2 separate regions of the Homo sapiens genome follow, and region 1 is linked to region 2. The links are contacts of gene promoters, found by promoter capture Hi-C in blood cells and fetal thymus (Javierre and others, 2016). All regions are on one chromosome and are shown on one strand. The core of a region is centred on a gene start or on the middle of the fragment in contact, and the rest is flanking DNA. Distances in the headings are between cores, read along the strand shown. Region 1 overlaps DEPDC5 (DEP domain containing 5, GATOR1 subcomplex subunit). Region 2 holds the start of YWHAH (tyrosine 3-monooxygenase/tryptophan 5-monooxygenase activation protein eta).

Evidence for each region. Contacts are between HindIII fragments. The CHiCAGO score rates a contact against its expected background, and 5 or more counts as called.
Region 1: a contact is called between a fragment that was not itself captured here and the fragment with the promoter of YWHAH in region 2, in 4 of 17 cell types (erythroblasts, megakaryocytes, endothelial precursors and 1 more). The highest score is 9.3, in erythroblasts.

What each region holds. Positions count from the first base shown.
Region 1 is chr22:31,889,133-31,891,950 of GRCh38, reverse strand. All of the region lies in intron 38 of DEPDC5 (DEP domain containing 5, GATOR1 subcomplex subunit), which reads right to left. It also overlaps the pseudogene LOC124905101. Among named protein-coding and RNA genes, the nearest start is that of YWHAH, 54 kb to the left of the region's middle. RefSeq lists an enhancer at 151-685. The HindIII fragment of the contact is 3,008 bases long and covers 1-2,818 here.
Region 2 is chr22:31,943,259-31,946,008 of GRCh38, reverse strand. It overlaps YWHAH (tyrosine 3-monooxygenase/tryptophan 5-monooxygenase activation protein eta), which reads right to left and starts at 1,474. Exons shown (of 2, transcript NM_003405.4): 1 at 1,189-1,474. The coding sequence starts at 1,275. YWHAH-AS1 (YWHAH antisense RNA 1) reads left to right here and starts at 643. Exons shown (of 3, transcript NR_171018.1): 1 at 643-776. LOC124900477 (a long non-coding RNA gene) reads right to left here and starts at 1,175. Exons shown (of 3, transcript XR_007068065.1): 1 at 774-1,175; 2 at 331-509. RefSeq lists enhancers at 504-553, 1,297-2,154, 2,155-2,750 and silencers at 874-1,213, 1,284-1,503, 1,514-1,603, 1,884-2,033. The HindIII fragment of the contact is 4,478 bases long and covers 1-2,750 here.

The DNA.
Region 1 (2,818 bases), core at 237-2,736, 54 kb after region 2:
CTTCTGCTCAGAAATCCTACCAACTCAAGATAGGATGTTTCAGAGACGTGTCAATCAAGTTCCTGACCAGGCTAAGGCCCTAAAATACGCTCAGAAGCAAAGAAAAGGTCAGGCTTCTGTTCTGCCTGGCTGGGCACTGCCAGACCTAGGGTTTCTGTTTGTTTTTTGCCTCCCTGAGGCACAGTCTTAAGAGATCCTGAGAACATGTACCCCCAGACCTAGGGTTTCTATAAACTATAATCCACCCCTCATTCTCCCTTACCCCCATGAATTCAACAGTTTTCTTCAGCTGAAGTGGTCAGTTTAGTTCTGGGTTCTGCAGATAGAAGCCCTGAGTGGGTTTTTCTCACTGACAAAGATAAACAGCTCTTGCGTCAGCAATTTTAATGAGCTTCTGTTGTAAGGCAGGAGAGCTCCAGCTAGGTCACTAATGGCATTCAGGCAAACTGGCATTCAGCTGCCAGATGTACCACTCACCATTCTCTCAAAAGACTAAGTCCAGGAAGTGTGGTTAGCAAGATGAATATGAGAGCAGAGATTAACCAAAAGTTGACAGAAACCGGAGTAAGAGAACGCCTGAAAGAGCTGCTGAGCTAAATTAATTGAATGTGGCTGAAAGGATGAGTTGATAAAGATAATGTAAAGATAATGATTTTAAGTGATATGTTTTTTGCTTTTGCATTAAGAGGTAATTAAAGAGAAAGGACTAGAACACGTTATTGTCGATGACTTGGTGGCTGAAATCACTCCAAAAGGCAGAGCCCTAGTACTTGACAGTTTAAAGAAGGAGCTCCTACAAAAAAATAAAAACATTCCTTGCTCAGCCTGTCAGTCTTTAAGATTGACCTAGATTGTGTTGTTCTGTGGTATTATTTTTGAAAGTAATATCTGCCATAAATTAGAAAACCATTCCCAAAATAAAATTCATTTTTTAGCCGGGCATGGTGGCTCACGCCTGTAATCCCAGCACTTTGGGAGGCCAAGGCAGGCGGATCACCTGAGGTCAGGAGTTCAAGACCAACATGGAGAAACCCCGTCTCTAATAAAAATACAAAAAATTAGCCGGGCGTGGTGATGCATGCCTGTAATCCCAGCTACTCGGGAGGCTGAGGCAGGAGAATTGCTTGAACCTGGGAGGCAAAGGTTGCAGTGAGCCGAGATCGCACCATTGCACTCTAGCCTGGGCAACAAGAGTGAAACTCCATCTCAAAATAAAATAAAAATTTTAAAAATCTTTTTTTTGAGACAGAATCTCACTTTGTTGCCCAGGCTGGAGTGCAGTGGCGTGATCTCGGCTCACTGCAACCTGGGCCTCCCAGGTTCAGGAGATTCTTGTGTCTCAGCCTCCCAGGTAGCTGGGCCTACAGGTGCACATCACCACGCCCAGCTAATTTTTGTATTTTAATAGAGTTGGGGTTTCCCTATGTTGGCCAGGCTTATCTCGAACTCCTAGCCTTAATTGACCTGCCCACCTCGGCCCCCGAAGGTGCTGGGATAATAATGAGCCACCATGCCTGGCCAAAATCCCTTTTTGTATGATGATATATGGTTTTCAGTAGTGATGTCTATGTTGTATTGATTTTTTCCCCCAAATGTGTTATTTTAATAAATATCTCATGAATGGAAAAACAAACAAAAACCTAGAACATGCAAATGGGAAAACTTATTGATTTGAAGTTGGAAGATCTAAGCTCTGCCATTTAGTAACCATATGTCTCAGAGAGCATTGTTTCACCTCTCCTGATTTAGTTCCTGAACTACAAACTGAGATGTGCCAGCCCAGATGGTTCATAGAGACAGGATGAGAATCAGGTGAAGCATGGATGAGAAAGGAGTGTGGACCTCCTCTCTTGCCTTACCCAGCCACCTAACTTGTAACTCTCCTCTTTTCCTTCTGTTCCTGCTGGTCTCTTCTCCCAATTTAGGCCATTAGTTTGCCAATGTTCAATCTGAGGCCTGTCTGTGCCGCCCATGGACACTGGTTGGCTGTCTGTGACATTTAAGGCTAAAGAACTTGGTCACTCCAATGCTAAAAGGCTCATCAAAACTACATTCTGTCTCTGCTTCATGTTATGGATTCCTGATACTGCCAGAATAACCCTTTACTTAGCCAAAATCAAAACAGTGGCTCACACCTGTAATCCCAACACTTTGGGAGGCCGAGGCGGGTGGATCACGAGGTCAGGAGATCGAGACCATCCTGGCTAACAAGGTGAAACCCGTCTCTACTAAAAATACAAAAATTAGCCGGGCATGGTGGCGGGTGCCTGTAGTCCCAGCTACTTGGGAGGCTGAGGCAGGAGAATGGCGTGAACCTGGGAGGCGGAGCTTGCAGTGAGCGCCTCTGCACTCCAGCATAGGCAACAGAGCGAGACTCTGTCTGGAAAAAAAAAAAAAAAAAAAAAAAAAGAAGTTTTGCCCTCTGGTCTTGGACACTGTGTGTTTCTTCCCAAGTGAAAAGTCTGTGTCACAAAGACGAGGATATTCAATAAATACCAGCAGTGGCCTCATGCATCTCTTCTCTCCCATCTGGCATGTTAAGTTCAGAACATGCTGGCCTGGGCCAGGAAGTACGCTGTTCAACCAAGTGGTTACAGGCTGAAGATACTACTGGCCCTGTACTTTGGGGATAGATTTGGCAGTACATATGTTTCTAGCGGATTATGATGTTGATAAAGATATGAGACCAGCTGAGTTCAGCTTTCAGTAAGTTCATAGAATCATTACGTGAGTTCCATGAGAACCAACTTATTCACACAAGACCAATAAATACATGCAAGCCCAGAGGAGGAATAGGCTGAGCATCCTTCACCCAGGT
Region 2 (2,750 bases), core at 225-2,724:
ATGAGCTTTCCAAATGACTTAAGATTTTAGGGAGCCTTTGTATTGGCAGTTTTTTTTCGGAACTCCCTCCAAAAGGCCAGCAAAGGATACATTTACTATAATCATGGGCAGTAATTCTCAGACTTAAGCCAGCTAAAAATCGCCTGTGAGAGCTGGTTACAATGCAGATGTCTGAGTCTCACCGCCCGAATTTCTGAATGTATAGGTCTAAGGCGGAGTTCAAGGGGATCCTCCCAGGTCTCAGGAGGTTGTACACTGAACATAGGTTGGTGGTCGCAGTTGTTCTACCACTGTGTGACCTTGACGCAGGGAGAGGAAATATTCATTTACAGAAAACGTAAAATAACGTGGAGAGAGAGTGAGATGGTAACCGGAACTCAGAAATGCAGGTGGTGTGTGACCCACGGTATTTTGCTAGGGTGTGGCTGGGCACGACTCATCCACCGGAGAAGCTGCAGAATCGATTTATGAGGGTCTCAGGAATGCAAAGACACACAGATTCGTCTCACCTAGAAGTCACGTTTCATTTTAATCTCCAAGCAGACAGCGCAGCAGCAAACCTGGGGCTGTGGAGTGGGGCCCCACACCCTCCGCCCACTCTCCCGCCCCCGTCCACGCCTAGACTGCAGGAAAGGGGTCTTCGCACACAAAGCCAGACCCCCAGGCGTGGGAAGATGGAACCAGAACAATTCGAACGAGCAGAGCAAAACAGATCGGAATTGCAGACTTCAGGTCGTGGCAGAGAAAACCAGCTGAGACAGGGCGCCACTTACTAGGTGATTCTTTATTCCAAGTTGGGGAACGGAGGAAGACGAGAGGGGGAGCCCCCGGGTCCGGTGAAACGCTCTAGGAGAAATGCGGCTCCTTCGCGTCCCCTAGGGCACCCTCTGCCCCCGGCCGGGTTCCGAACTAAGATGTGGCGACCCCGACCGGCCCGCCCCCCTTCCGGGGCTGCCTTCGCGATCCCGAACTGCACCCTCCCGGATCCCCCACCCTGGGCCCAGCCTCAGGAAGTGGCGGGGCGCCCAGCGGGAGCGGGAAGCGCGGGCTAAGGGCGGGCGGGCGGCCACGCCCAGCCGGGTCGCCGGGTCGCCCATGGCCGGGAGGGGAACGCGCCCGCGGCCATCCCCGTCCCTCCCCAACGCCAGGCCCCCCCCGGCCAGCCGCCCGGGCTCCCGGCGCGCTCACCGCCTTCATAGCGGAGGCCATGTCGTCGTAGCGCTCCGCCTGCTCGGCCAGCCGCGCCCGCTGCAGCAGCTGCTCCCGGTCCCCCATGTCGCTCGCGGCTCGGCCTCGCCTCGCGCCTCACACCGCTGGCTCGCTAGCCCTCCCGCCGGTCAGTCCGCTCCCCGGTCGCTGCGGAGGCCGCCGCCGCGCACGCGCACTGGCTCGCCGGCCGGCCGGAGGCTGCAGGCTGCAGGCTGCAGGCAGCGCCGCCGCTCGCGCCCTCTCGCTGGCTCGCCCCGCGCGCTGTGGCTCGCGCCGCGGACAACGCCGAGGGAGGAGACGCGGCCGCGCTGGGGGATGGGAGGACGGGACGACGCCTGCGCAGTGAGAGTGGCCAGGCCGGGCGGCGGGGAGCGGCGGGAGTGGGAGGGGGGAAGGGCGGGCCGGCCCTAACGGTCTATTTCAAGGTGACGTCACCTACTATAAATAGCCACCGCCGCCGCCGCCGCCCGGCCTGAAAGCCGCGCAGGCGCTCTGCGAGTGCTGCATTTTACCGCCGCAGAGATGGAGGTGGAGAAGGGAAAGCCGGGCAGGAGACTGCGGAGCCGGTGGAGGGGGCGCGGTGATGGCGGCTGCACAGGCAGTGCATTGTCATAGCCCCACCCTGAAACGCGCCACTCCATCCACGTTAGAGATCTGGCTTGAGAAGGGCCCCAAAAGCAAGCAAACATACTGGCGGAGAAGCCGGGAGACCGCGTGCCCCGAGGGGCGGGTCCGCCCAGCCCCGCCCCAGCCGTCCCGCCCGCCCCGAGCCCTGCCTGTCCATGCGTTCTGCTGGGCCACACCTTGTACTGGTCCGGGCAGGATCGAGTCCGACCCTCGGGGACAGCCCCGCTACACAGACACACACAATCGAACCCAACCTGAGACGTAGCCTTGGGCAGGCTGTGCCTTCCACCAGAGGAGGGGACTGGGTGGCCAGGGCGGGACAAGTAATATTCAGGACACATTAGGAGCCAGCCCAGTGCTAGTCCCGTACAAGCATCCTCCTCTTTAATCCTCACTACCCAGCCCACAGTGGGCACAGCTGGTCTCCCCATATTTAAAACGTGGAACCTGAGGAAAAGCGAGGTTAGTGACTTGCTCAGGGTTACGCAGCCTGTAAGTGGTGGGGCCAGGATCTGAGTCCAAACCCAGGCTGAACTTTCTCTTGTGGCAAAGAGCTGGGGTGGCCCAACTGGCTGGTCACTGAGCCCCTCCCAATCCTGGCTGGTATTGGATGCTGAGGGTCCCTTGTGCCAGGCCCTGGACTGGGCTGCCCGACAAGCTAGGAAAATGATGATTAAAACAAGGCCCCCACTTGATTTCAACACGCCAAGGGCAGTGCAGGAGAGGGGGCCTTGGGCTCGCTGAGAATTTTATTGAGCATCTACTGCATGCTCAGCCCACAGGGATAAGCTGGATCTTGAAGGAGAGTCAGGAAAAAGATTAAGGCCTGGGGTACAGCATTGGCAAAGGCTTGGCAGTGACCTGGGAGATGGTGAGAAGAGAGGCCTAAGAATGGGAAGTGAGGTTGGGTAAAA